3 separate regions of the Homo sapiens genome follow, and all the other regions are linked to region 2. Evidence: promoter capture Hi-C in human tissues and cell types (Jung and others, 2019). All regions are on one chromosome and are shown on one strand. The core of a region is centred on a gene start or on the middle of the fragment in contact, and the rest is flanking DNA. Distances in the headings are between cores, read along the strand shown. Region 1 has its middle 38 kb from the start of MIR4313. Region 2 holds the start of CSPG4 (chondroitin sulfate proteoglycan 4). Region 3 has its middle 15 kb from the start of UBE2Q2.

Evidence for each region. Contacts are between HindIII fragments. The study calls those that stand out against the background at their distance.
Region 1: a fragment that was not itself captured here is called in contact with the fragment with the promoter of CSPG4 in region 2 in 5 of the 25 tissues and cell types used here (aorta, psoas muscle, small bowel and 2 more).
Region 3: a fragment that was not itself captured here is called in contact with the fragment with the promoter of CSPG4 in region 2 in 4 of the 25 tissues and cell types used here (IMR-90 fibroblasts, lymphoblastoid cells, mesenchymal stem cells and 1 more).

Annotation. Positions count from the first base shown.
Region 1 is chr15:75,798,159-75,802,040 of GRCh38, forward strand. No RefSeq gene overlaps it. Among named protein-coding and RNA genes, the nearest start is that of MIR4313, 38 kb to the left of the region's middle. The HindIII fragment of the contact is 8,210 bases long and covers 1-3,882 here.
Region 2 is chr15:75,710,975-75,714,771 of GRCh38, forward strand. CSPG4 (chondroitin sulfate proteoglycan 4) reads right to left here and starts at 1,874. Exons shown (of 10, transcript NM_001897.5): 1 at 1,694-1,874. The coding sequence starts at 1,781. The HindIII fragment of the contact is 20,321 bases long and covers 1-3,797 here.
Region 3 is chr15:75,826,979-75,830,810 of GRCh38, forward strand. No RefSeq gene overlaps it. Among named protein-coding and RNA genes, the nearest start is that of UBE2Q2, 15 kb to the right of the region's middle. The HindIII fragment of the contact is 5,487 bases long and covers 1-3,832 here.

The DNA.
Region 1 (3,882 bases), core at 1,012-3,511, 88 kb after region 2:
GATATTCCTATCAGGTATTACATGTTGACAGTTACCTCCCAGGAGTCTAGGACAAAGGCCAGATCTCTTTTTGGTCAAGGTTAATTTTTTTTCCTTATTTTTTAAAACTATACGACATGCCATCATTCTATTATTCAATCTTTCTATTTTATCTTCAAAATAACCCTAATTGGTGGGTAAGGATGTTTATTATTATAAACGAGATCTCGAAAGAAAAGACACTTGGGCAAAGTTGCACAGTCTATCTTTGACTCATGGTGCAATACTCTTTCCACTCTCTGAGAACACTGAGTCCTGTGAAGAAGGTGAAAGGAAGGTGTGTGCGTGTGTGTGCACGTCTGTGTTGGTGTGTGTAAATGTATATCTAATAAGTGTGTATAGATATGTGTATGTCTCTGTATTTGTGTTTGTGTATACATGTGGATGTCTGGGTGTCTATATGCATGTTTGTGTGTGTGTACACATGCTCATGGGGAAGGTTAAAGAGAAAATTGGCCCGGTGCGGTGGCTCATGCCTGTAATCCCAGCACTTTGGAAGGCTAAGGCGAGCAGATTGCCTGAAGTCAGGAGTTCGAGACCATTCTGGCCAACATGGTGAAACTCCATCTCTACTAAAAATGCAAAAAAATTATCTGGACGTGGTGGCATGCACCTGTAAACCCAGCTACTCAGGATTGCTTGAACCAGGGAGGTGAAGGTTGCAGTGAGACGAGATCGCACCACTGTACTCCAGCCTGGGCAACAGAGTGAGATTCCATCTCAAAAAGGAGAGAGAGAGAGTCAGCAGTGTGCAGTGATGCACATCTGTAATGCCAGCTACACAGGAGGTGGACGGAGGAGGATCACTTGAGCCCGGGAGTTTGAGAGAGAGAGAGAAAATTTCAATAATCTTGCAGTTAGAAGGAAAAACCTGGGGCTGAGCACAAAGAGACATAAAGCACAGCATAAAGAGGCAGAGAAATGTCTAATGAAAAGTGACAAAGAATTAATTAGTTCTTATATAAAGAAATATAGGACTTTAGCAGCAGGATAAAACTGGAATATAATTTCTTCTAGAATCCTGATAATCTTTGTGAGAAAACTGTTGGTCATATATGTTAATTGCCAAAACTTGCAGGACCCTATGCAATAGAACTAGCAAATAAAACCATCTTTCTGAAACTCACTATGCTACAAGCAGCATTCAACTCTTTCTCAACCAAGATTTCACTAACCTATCTCCAGCTTCCAGATGGTGAGGGAAAGTGTGATGAGATTTTATGATAAATTGTGCCTGTCTCTGAGTCCATCTCCTTCTATTGAAGAGAAGGAAAATGAGGTGAGCACATTACAGCCCTGCTGACAAAAGTCACAAGATAAGCAAATAATTATTACTTAAAACCAGGGAGTCCTATAATTTATTCATGAATGCCACACATTCTATATTAGATCTTCCATTTCAATTTACTTGTATTATTTGAAGCTAATTTATAAGATTCAAATTATTCAGAAAATGCTCCCACGTAAATAGAAGAAAACACTTTAACCAGAGGAAGTATCATGCTACACAATATGGTGTGGTGGTGAAGGGTGCAGGCTCTAAAACCAGAAAACACAGGTTCAAGTCCTGGCCTTACCACCTTGGGAAAGTTACATGGTCTCTCTGTGCCTCCATTTCCCCATCTAAAATGTGGGGATGACAATAATAGTGTCTATTTCACAGAGCAGTTTTGAGGAAAATAATATATGTAAAGCACTGTGAACAGCAGTTAGTGCTATGTAAGTGTTTGCTCTAGTTATTTTAACATTTCAGATGATAAATATCTACCCTGTTATTCAGATGACAAGCGTCCCTAAGCTGATAACATGATGAAGAGCTTTTGGGTTTCTTAATTTCCATCAGTTTTGTGAGGGAAAAAATACCACATGAAGAAGAGCAACTGAAGCAGGCGTGAGGAGGAAACTTGGCTTAAGATTGGGGGGCTTGGGGTTATTAGGCTTTCATCTTCTAAAATGTCCTAAGCTCCATTGATAAGAAGACACTTAGTATCAATCCAGCTAAAAAGGAACAATAGACCCCACAAGACACTGAGTTAGAGACAAAAATAGCAGGGTAATAAATGAAATATGGAAAACTACACAACCAGAAAAATAAACAGCTACCAGTACCCAAAACGTGGTTAAATCTCACAGGATTATATTGAATGAAAGAAGCCAGCCACAAACGTGCACATACTGAATGGTCCCATTTATATGAAGCTAAAGAACAGGCGAAACTAATCCATGGTTGCAGAGGTCAGGATCCTGGTTAACTTTGAGGGGACAGCAACTGAGAAGGGGCAAGAGGGAGCCCTCTGTGCTGATGGGAACATTCTGTATCTTGAACTGAGTGGCGGTCACATAAGTGTGCACATATGTAAATAGTAAGGAGTTGTAGCTTAAGGTATAGGCACCTCGCTGAATGTAAGATACTGTCTTAGTCCATGTGTGCTGCTGTAACAAAATATTTGAGACTGGGTAATGTGTAAAGAACAAAAATGTATTTCTCACAGTTCTGGTGGGTGGGAAGTCCAAGATCAAAGCGCCAGCAGGTTTGTAGTCTAGTGAGGGCTGCTCTCTGCTTCCAAGATGGCACCTTAAATGCTGAGACCTCCAGAGGTGAGGAATGCTGTGTCCCAGCATGGTGGAAAGAACAGAAAAGCAAAAGAAGAAAACCGAGCTGGGTAGCTCCCTCAAGCCCTTTCATAAGGTCACTAATCCCATTCACGAGGGGGCTCCTCCTTACAGCTTAGTCATCTCCTAAAGACTCCACCTCTTAATACTATCACATTGGGGTTTAAGTTCCAACATGAATTTTGGAGGAGACACAATCATTCCAACCATAGCAAATATACTTTACTAAGAAAGAAAAAAACATAGTCTCTAAATATGATATTTTAAGAGTTTATATATTTAAAGCTCAATTTTCTGCTTGCTTACATACATATTTGTGACCATGAGTGTCATTCTTGGCTGAGAAACATTTCAGTAAATTTTAAAAAGTCTCACATTATCTATTAATATCTTATTCAGATAAGATCAAATTTCTAACCTACATTTTAGGTTGAGACAGAAACCCAGTCATTTGTTGCAATGTGAGAATGACAGAGAGATAGTAACTAGCAGAATCCAACTATAAAACTAAATTTAAGGGCACAATTCTCTACTAATCACTCCCCCAGACAAATCATTACTTGGATAGCAATGAATCAACTAAAAATGGAAGTGAGAAAAGTTCGAGTCCTTTTTGCGATGGATGGATGCTTATGAGACTATTAAGTGAAGGGGGTTCGGAAATAAGGGGATAAATGGCATACTAATTTGAGGTTGAATGGAGTAATGAGATGACCTTGGAAATATAAGAATCCTGCTTAATGGGGCTTGTCTACTTGCAATTCGATAAACTAATATACGTAAATTCAAGGAGATAAAGGACATGAGCACTCAGCACAAAATTACAGGAATAGATTTAGCAAAGAGGAACCAAAGTTGAGATAAGGGCCACTGTTCCAGGTCTGACATCTTTAATTCTTGAGTCATGGGGATGGTAAACCAGAGAACAGAGTCTTCCGACTGGAAGCTAAAACCAGCCTTTGGGGTGGGTTCAGAGAGCCTGTTCAGACTCAAGATGCGAAAACAGATGTTGCATGGTCGAAAACATCCCGAGTGCAAGGGCATTTTCAAAGACAGCGGTGCTCAGGGAAAAAGAATACTGTGTGTTTAAAAAGAAAAAAAATTAAAAGAAAGAATGGAAACAAGGAGGAAAAAGTGACCGGAGTGTAGGGTGACCATACGTTCTGGTTTGCAAGGTACAGCTAATGTTATGTCTGCTGTCCTGGTACAATTATTATAGTGCCCCCTTTC
Region 2 (3,797 bases), core at 624-3,123:
CCATTTAAGGCTTCTGTGCCCCAGCCCAGTGGTTCTCCCTGGCCTGTGCTCGAAATACGCCTCCCAGCCAGGCTGCTGGCCTTCCTGTCTCAACACCCCTCTGCTTACGCCCACCTTGGTGCCTCTGAGTCAGCGCCCCTGCCTGGAGGACTGACTCCCTTCCCATCCACCAAGGCTTGGTTTGAGGCCCACCCTGTGTCCTGCCCCAGCTTGCCCCTGCTTTTCTCCCCTCTGTACTTTTCATCCAGATTTTTGCTGTTTGAGATTTAATTTGCCTTTCTGCCTCCTGAATGAGTCTCAGTTCAGCCTCTCAATTTCCCGTGCCCCTGCGAGCCTAGCACCATGCCTGCATGCTGTCAGGGCTAAGAAGGTATTTGAGAATGGCTCTCAGTTGAAGCCCAAGGAGGTGGGGGTACTGGAATCCCTCCTTGGCTGGAGGCTGGGGCCTGAATGAGCTGACCACCCTGGTCACCTTGGATGCTCCCTTCCCATCTCCCTGGCGGCCCAGCCCATCCCTCAGGCCCTGAGATCTTAGGGGATCTGGTCCCTGCAGGAACAGGGAGCCTGGAGATCCAGCCCTGATTCACCCCGCGGGGGTCCTCCCTTGACTCACTTCCCTTCTGGGAACCATGTGATGCCCTCTTTTAGAGCTGGCTTCTCCATCTGAAGGAGAGAAGGGTGTGGCCTGGGCCCTTGTGAAGGAGGCTCAGGCCCTGCCTTTGCTCCATGTTGCTCTTGGGAATGATCTCGAAGGTGTAGCTGAAGCACTGAATCACACGTGGGTAGTGATGATGGATGGGCCCTAAGGCCACAGTTCTTATGGCATAACTAGAGCTGCCTTCGCTGAAGGAAGAATGCTGTCATGTTGGGGTTTCTGGCATCGGGACAGAGAGGGGATATATCCCAGCACTTCTCGGAAAGCGAACTTCCATTCAGCCTCTGCTGGGTCAGGCATCAGTGCTGGGATGAGGAGGTGTGGCAGGGGGTGGTCCAGAGCTATCTGTAGGACAAGCCCCGCTGAGGGGCACCAGCTCTCCCTCTAGGAGGCTGAGAGTGGGTAGTGGGTGGGGGGTCCTGCCTGTCACCAACAGGAGGAGGGAGAGGAGAGAATGAAGAGGGGAGGTGGCAGATAGACGGATCTGCAAGGAAGCAAGGGGAGGAAAGAAGGGGCAGAGCTGGGGGGCAGCTGGAGGGGTGTGGGGGTGCTCCTCACAGGGGAGGGCAGGGTGGCTCATTCCTCGTTTCCCACCTTGTAGCACTCCCCATTCCTGGCCCAGGGCATCTGAAGCTGGAGGACCCACTTCTCACTGTCGCCGGGTCCCTTTGGACCCCAACATACTCACCCCAAACTTGCCTGGCAAACAAAGCTCGGCCAGCATTGGGGTGGCCCCACTGGTGTCTCAGACAATCCAAACGGGCAAAGCCACGCCCTAGGCAATCCATGCCTGGGGCGCCTGCTCCCGCCCCTAACTGGACAGCCTTGGCTAGCTAGAAACCCCATAACCTGAGATAGCGGGGTCCCGTGTCCGCCCCAGGATTGAACCCCTGGCGACCCCAGCTAGTGGTGGGAGAAGCGCAGCCTGCTTGACTCCCGATCTGGGGGCCACTTCTGGCTCCTCCTGTCCCTTTTCCCTCCCGGAGGAACCCCTCTAGTTCCGCCAGGCTGGGTCGGGGTCTCAGGCCCCTCACTCACCCGCGGATGCAAGTCTGGCCAACATAGTCAGGGTCAAAGCCAAGGCCAGGCCGGGGGCTGGAAGTGGGGGCCGCGGCCCGGACTGCATCCCGGCGGGCTGGGCGGCAGGACTTGCGAGGAGCCAGCGGAGTCCTGGGAGCTGGGAGCTGAGTGGAGCGAGCGCGGCTCTGCTCCTGGGCGCGGGCCGGCTCCGGGTGTCCGCGCACTTAACTCCGGGGGCGGGGCAGGCGCAGACCCGCGCGCCCGCTCGGGTTTCAGGCTTGGACTCCCCCACCTGCCCCCACCCTCAACCTTCTTAAAGGGCCCGTGCGGGGCTGTTCCTCTCTGGGGCAGGGGTGAGGGGGCCCTTGCAGCTGGGCCAGACCCCAGCCCCACCCTAAAGACTTAGAACAAAGTCATAGAGAGGCCCAGACACCCTGAACTCTGGCCCCAAGAGCCGAGCCCGGGAGACCCCCTCAGGGAGGAGGCATGAACTGTCCCAGCCCCTACTTCCCTCCTTTCTGCCTTTGCGGGAGTTCAGGAGACCCCTCCACAGGCACACTCCAGCCTTAGGAGGAAGGACAGACACCAGCCACCCTCACAGGCGGCTTTTGGGCTGCTTTGCCTCGGAGGTCCCCTAGGAACTTCTCCAGACTCCAGAGGCACCACCCGAGGTCCTGTGGGGCACTGCCCATGGCTGCAACAGTGACCTTCTCTGCCTGGAAGGGCCTCACCTCAGTCTCCCTGTCTGTAAGGGAGAGATGTCTGGATTTCCTCGCAGGGCAGAAGAATTCTCAGTCCCGCCATGACATTTGCCTCAAAATAACCTTGCAAGGTGGGTGAGGAGCATCCCCTCCCCCATTTCATGGAGGACGAAAGTGCAGCTCAAGCTGAAAGTGGCTCTTACAAGACTCCAGGTGGAAAGTAGGTCCCTGGCCGTTTGGTGCCAGAAGCCCAGGCCTCCTGACCCCTGAATCCGGGTGTTTCAACTTCCCGAGGCTGCCTCCTGGAAATCTGGCCCTGGATTTGGCTTCTACCTAACAGCTTCAGGCTGGGGCCCTTCTGCTGGCTCCCTTCCAGGCAGCAACATCAGCCTAGTCCCAAACAGGAGGAGAAAGGGCAATGTTACTTAGCTTCCGGTGCCTAGAGGATCTGCGTGTTCTCTGTCCAGTCCCAATGTTACCGGGCCTTGGTTTACTTCCTCCATTCAGGTCCCTCCATCTATCTGCTCCAGCCCATCTCCAGCCCAACCCCACCTTGCACCCTCTTCCCAGCTCTTCCCTTTGACCAGTAACAGCCCAGCACTTCATACTTTGCAACGAAACTGAGACCTGTTTTGCAGATGAAGAAACTGAGGCTGAGAGAGATTAAGGGACTGGAGCTAGTCTACATAGCTGCTGAGATGTGGGGCCAGGTCTTTGACCCTAAGTGCAGTGCTCAGGTGTGATGGTGCCTGGTCCATGTGGGGGTTATGAGTATTGGTCTTGAAACCAGAGAGACCTGGGTTCAAATCCCAGCTCCCTTACTTGGTTGTCAAACCTTGAACAAGTCCCCTCACCTCTCTGTGGCAGTTTCCTCATTTGTAAAATTGGGTTAATGAGGATTAAATGCTTTAATGTACCTCAAGTCCCTAGCCCAGGGCCTGGCATACGGTAGGTGCTCAATAAATGCTTATCCTTTCTCCTCCGTCTCTGTCATCCTGCACATTCCCTGTGATTCATGGTTTACATACAGCTTTACACATATCACCTCCCTTGTTGTAAAGCTTGAACTTTCTCCTCCAGAGGCTGCTGCATACAGTAGGTGTACAATAAATGCCTGCTGTAGTTGACTAAGAAACCAATTGCTGCTGTTCTGTAGGGATTTTGGCAAACCTAAGAGCTTCCATCCAGGTGCCCTAGGAGGCCTGGGATGGAGGCTGTGCTAGGCTGGCCTCAGTGGCGGTAAAGGCATTGATTCCACAATTTGTCCCTTGTTTTTTTTTTTTTTTTTTTTGAGACAGAGTCTCGCTCTGTTGCCCAGGCTGGAGTGTAATGGCGCGATCTCGGCTCACTGCAACCTCTGCCTCCCGGGTTCAAGCGATTCTCCTGCCTCAGCCTCCTGAGTAGCTGGGATTGCAGGTGTG
Region 3 (3,832 bases), core at 457-2,956, 120 kb after region 2:
TGATATAGCCTCCTAACATAGTACCCTGTCCGGCACAGACAAGACGAACAATCCGTGTTTACTGAATAAATGACCTGACATTATTTTGGAGAAATAAGATAACATTTTTCAGGAGGTGAAAATAAGGAGAGGACCCAAGGCATGATATGAACCCGTGCTTCTTCCTTACATGGTCATTATCCCTTCCAGATTTGGAGGCCTAGGCCAGAGCAACCAATAGCTCACATAACACCTTTGTGCAAATTAGAAAAAGGCCTGGCCTGTGGAAGGACACAGTCCCCAAAACACATGGCTTGAAAAAATACAGTGTGGGCTGGCTCTCAGCTCCCCAGACCAGGTACTCTCTGCTTGAATAATGCACACAATCTTACGCAGCTAGTCTGCCCTAGGCTGAGCAAACTGGCAAGTCATTCCACCTTAGAAAAGTGACCAATTAAGTATAATTCTCTGAAGAAGCTCATTACAGCTCAGATTTTGTGGGAATGTGATATTTTTGTCTGCAGGGTGATCTTTTTGACACTTTTCCTCCTTACCTTCCTGAATGTGAGAAGAGAGTCCTTGCTGGCATCATTCGAATAGGTAGTATTGTTATCCAATGGGGCCACAGGATTTCTGGGGGCAAATGCTTTTTGCAGTTCTTCTAAATATAATTGTGCTGTCTTGAAGAAGACCTTTAAGACCCCGAACTGCATGGTCTGTGACTAAGAGTAGCCCAGGGGAGCGTGCTGGGGGTGGCAGGTATTAGGACCTAGCTCTTTCTGGCTGGAGCTGGCACCACTTGCATAGGAGGTACACTGATCCCTGGGGTGAGTTGGGGAGTGGGGATGGGAGAGTTCAAGGGAGCAGGGTGAGGAAACTAAACGACTTGTCAGTGCCTTGTGATTCAGACCTTCCTGTTGTAGAGAAGTGATTTTGTTTGACATGGATTCCCAGAATGCCTGACACACCCACATGCAAGCGAGCCCCAACCCATCCCAGGGCCCATGGTGAGTGAGTGAACTGAGGATTCATGACAGCTTCTGCCCTCAGCACCATTCCCTGCTCCTATCTGAACAGGCTTTTCCCCAATAGAAGCATCACAAGAGCATATGAGGATGGGAAACATTCCAGAGACTTGCATTAAATTGACCCTATAATTCTCAAGCCTGAGAGGGGAAGCTATCTGTCTTTTCTGGAAGCTTGACACACCTTAACTTCTCTCATTTCTTGTTTTTATTTATTTGTTTATTTATATTTTAGACGGAGTTTCACTCTTGTCACCTAGGTTGGTGTGCAATGGTGCAATCTTGGTTCACTGCAACCTCCGTCTCCCTGGTTCAAGCAATTCCCCTGCTTCAGCCTCCCAGGTAACTGGGATTACAGGCATACGCCACCATGCCCAGCTAATTTTGTATTTTTAGTAGAGATGGGGTTTCACCATGTTGGTCAGGCTGGTCTTAAACTCCTGACCTCAAGTGATCCACCTACCTCAGCCTCCCAAAGTGCTGGGATTATAGGCGTGAACCACCGCGCCTGGCCAACTTCTTTCATTTCTTAATCTCCCAAACACATCGGTCAACTGTAAGTTTGATAGTAATGACAGGGATATCTACTTCGTAATCAAACCAAAAGTGGTGAGATGGGGAGGATGTGGGAAAGGCGAATCAGAGAGCCTGGGGAAAGGTATTGCTCTCCCTTCCAGAACTGGAGTCAACATACAAACACCTTTTCATGCGGTCACTGGGTCATCACTAAAAGTAACACTCATTGCATTTTGGAAACTGAAGAAATCTCAGAGACCATTATTCCTTTGTTTTAAAGACTAGGACCCTGAAGCGTAATGAAATGTATTACGGCTGAAGATTACCCAGGAAATGAAACCAGGGTTAGAACCCAGGTCTGTGGCTGCTACTCCAATGTGACTTCTACCATGCTATGCTGCCTCTCAAAGTAATTATCTTTTCTCACTCATTCGTTCATTCACCAAATATTTGTTGGGCACTGTTACGTGCCTGGCACTGTGAGGTATGCTAGCTAGATAGTAGAAGTGAACAAGACCAACATTGTCCTCACGGGGCTTAAATGTAATGAGAAGACACATTAAACAAATTATGCAAATAAACAATTACAAAGATGATGAATGCCAAGAAGAATTAGACGGCACTATTAGAGCTTATAAAAACATGCCTTACCTAGCCCAAGTGGCAATGATGGTGGTGAGATCCAGGAAGGCTTCTCTGAGGAAATGACATTTAAGCTGAGACTTGAAGGATGAGTAGAAGATAGTGAGGTGAAGGGTCTGGGAGATGGGAAGTGAAATTGAGGTAGAGGGAAGGAGATGTATTATGGCAAAAACTGTCATTACTTTTGCACCAGCCTAATACAAAGGCAGGAAAGAGATAAAGCTTTCAAATAACTGAAAATAAACCTGTGGCCTAGTGTATAAATGGTCTGGGGGATACAATGGGTTGGGAAGCAGAGTCAGACCATTCAGAGCCTGGCAAGCTGTGGTCAGGATTCTGGACTTTATCCTGAGAGTGGAGGGAAACCACTGGAGGGTTTTTAAATATGGAAGTGTTATGACCAGATTTTTCTTTTTCTTTTTTTTTTTTGAGATTGAGTTTTGCTCTTGTTGCCCAGGCTGCAGTGCAATGGCGCGATTTCAGCTTACTGCAAACTCCTCCTCCCAGGTACAAGCAATTCTCCTGCCTCAGCCTCCCAAGTAGCTGGGATTACATCTATATGGCATCACACCTGGCTAATTTCGTATTTTTAATAGGGATGGGATTTCGCCATGTTGACCAGGCTGGTCTTGAACTCCTGACCTCAGGTGATCCACCTGCCTCGGCCTCCCAAAGCACTAGGATTACAGGCATGAGCCACCGCACCTGGCTGACCAGATTTTAAAAAGATCACTGAGAAGATTTCACTAGTGGGAGCAAAAGTGAATGCAGGCAGTGACTTAGGGGGCTCCTCCAACATCTCAGGTAAGAGAGGATGGTGGCTTGGACCAGAGCAGGGCTAGTGGAGATGGGGAGAAATGAAGACATCCACAAGCATTTAGAAGGAACTTGGTACTCAGTGAATGTGAGAAATGAGCAAGAGAGGAGGGACCAAGAGTAACCATCAGTGTTGGCATAAGACGGGGGAAATGGGGGTGCATTCCTGGAGCTAGGGAATACTGCAGGAGTCAAAGCCTCAAAAAGAGACCAAGATTGGACATGTTAAGATTGAGGGACCTGGGAGACAAAGAGGAGAAGATCAGAGAAGGCAGTTGGATGTGTAGGACTTACAGTGCAGAAAAGAGATCTGCTTTAGAAATAGAAATGTAGGAGTCAGGTTGGCCAGGCGTGGTGGCTCACACCTGTAATCCCAGCACTTTGGGAGGCCAAGGTGGGTGGATCACCTGAGGTCAGGAGTTTGAGACCAGACTGGCCAACATGGCAAAACCCCGTCTCTACTAAAAATATAAAAATTAGCCAGGTGTGTTGGTGGGTGCCTGTAGTCCCAGCTACTCGGGGGGCTGAGGCAGGATAATTGCTTGAACTGGGGAGGTGGAGGTTTCAGTGAGCCAAGATCGTGCCACTTCAGTCCAGCCTGGGTGAAAGAGTGAAACTCCATCTCAAAAAAAAAACCAAAAAAAAAATTTAGGGGTCAGGTCACCGAGATGGTGACCAAAGCCATGGGAATGGAGAAATCCATTTAGGGAGAGAGGCTAGGCCCACAAGAAAAGAGATAAATCAAGAAAATAAGCATATTTATTTCAGTGAGCAAAATAATGTACACCTAAAAGCATATGACGTCTCTACTTTTCAGATCTGTGTTGGTTACTATGCTATTGCTTCTCAGTTTT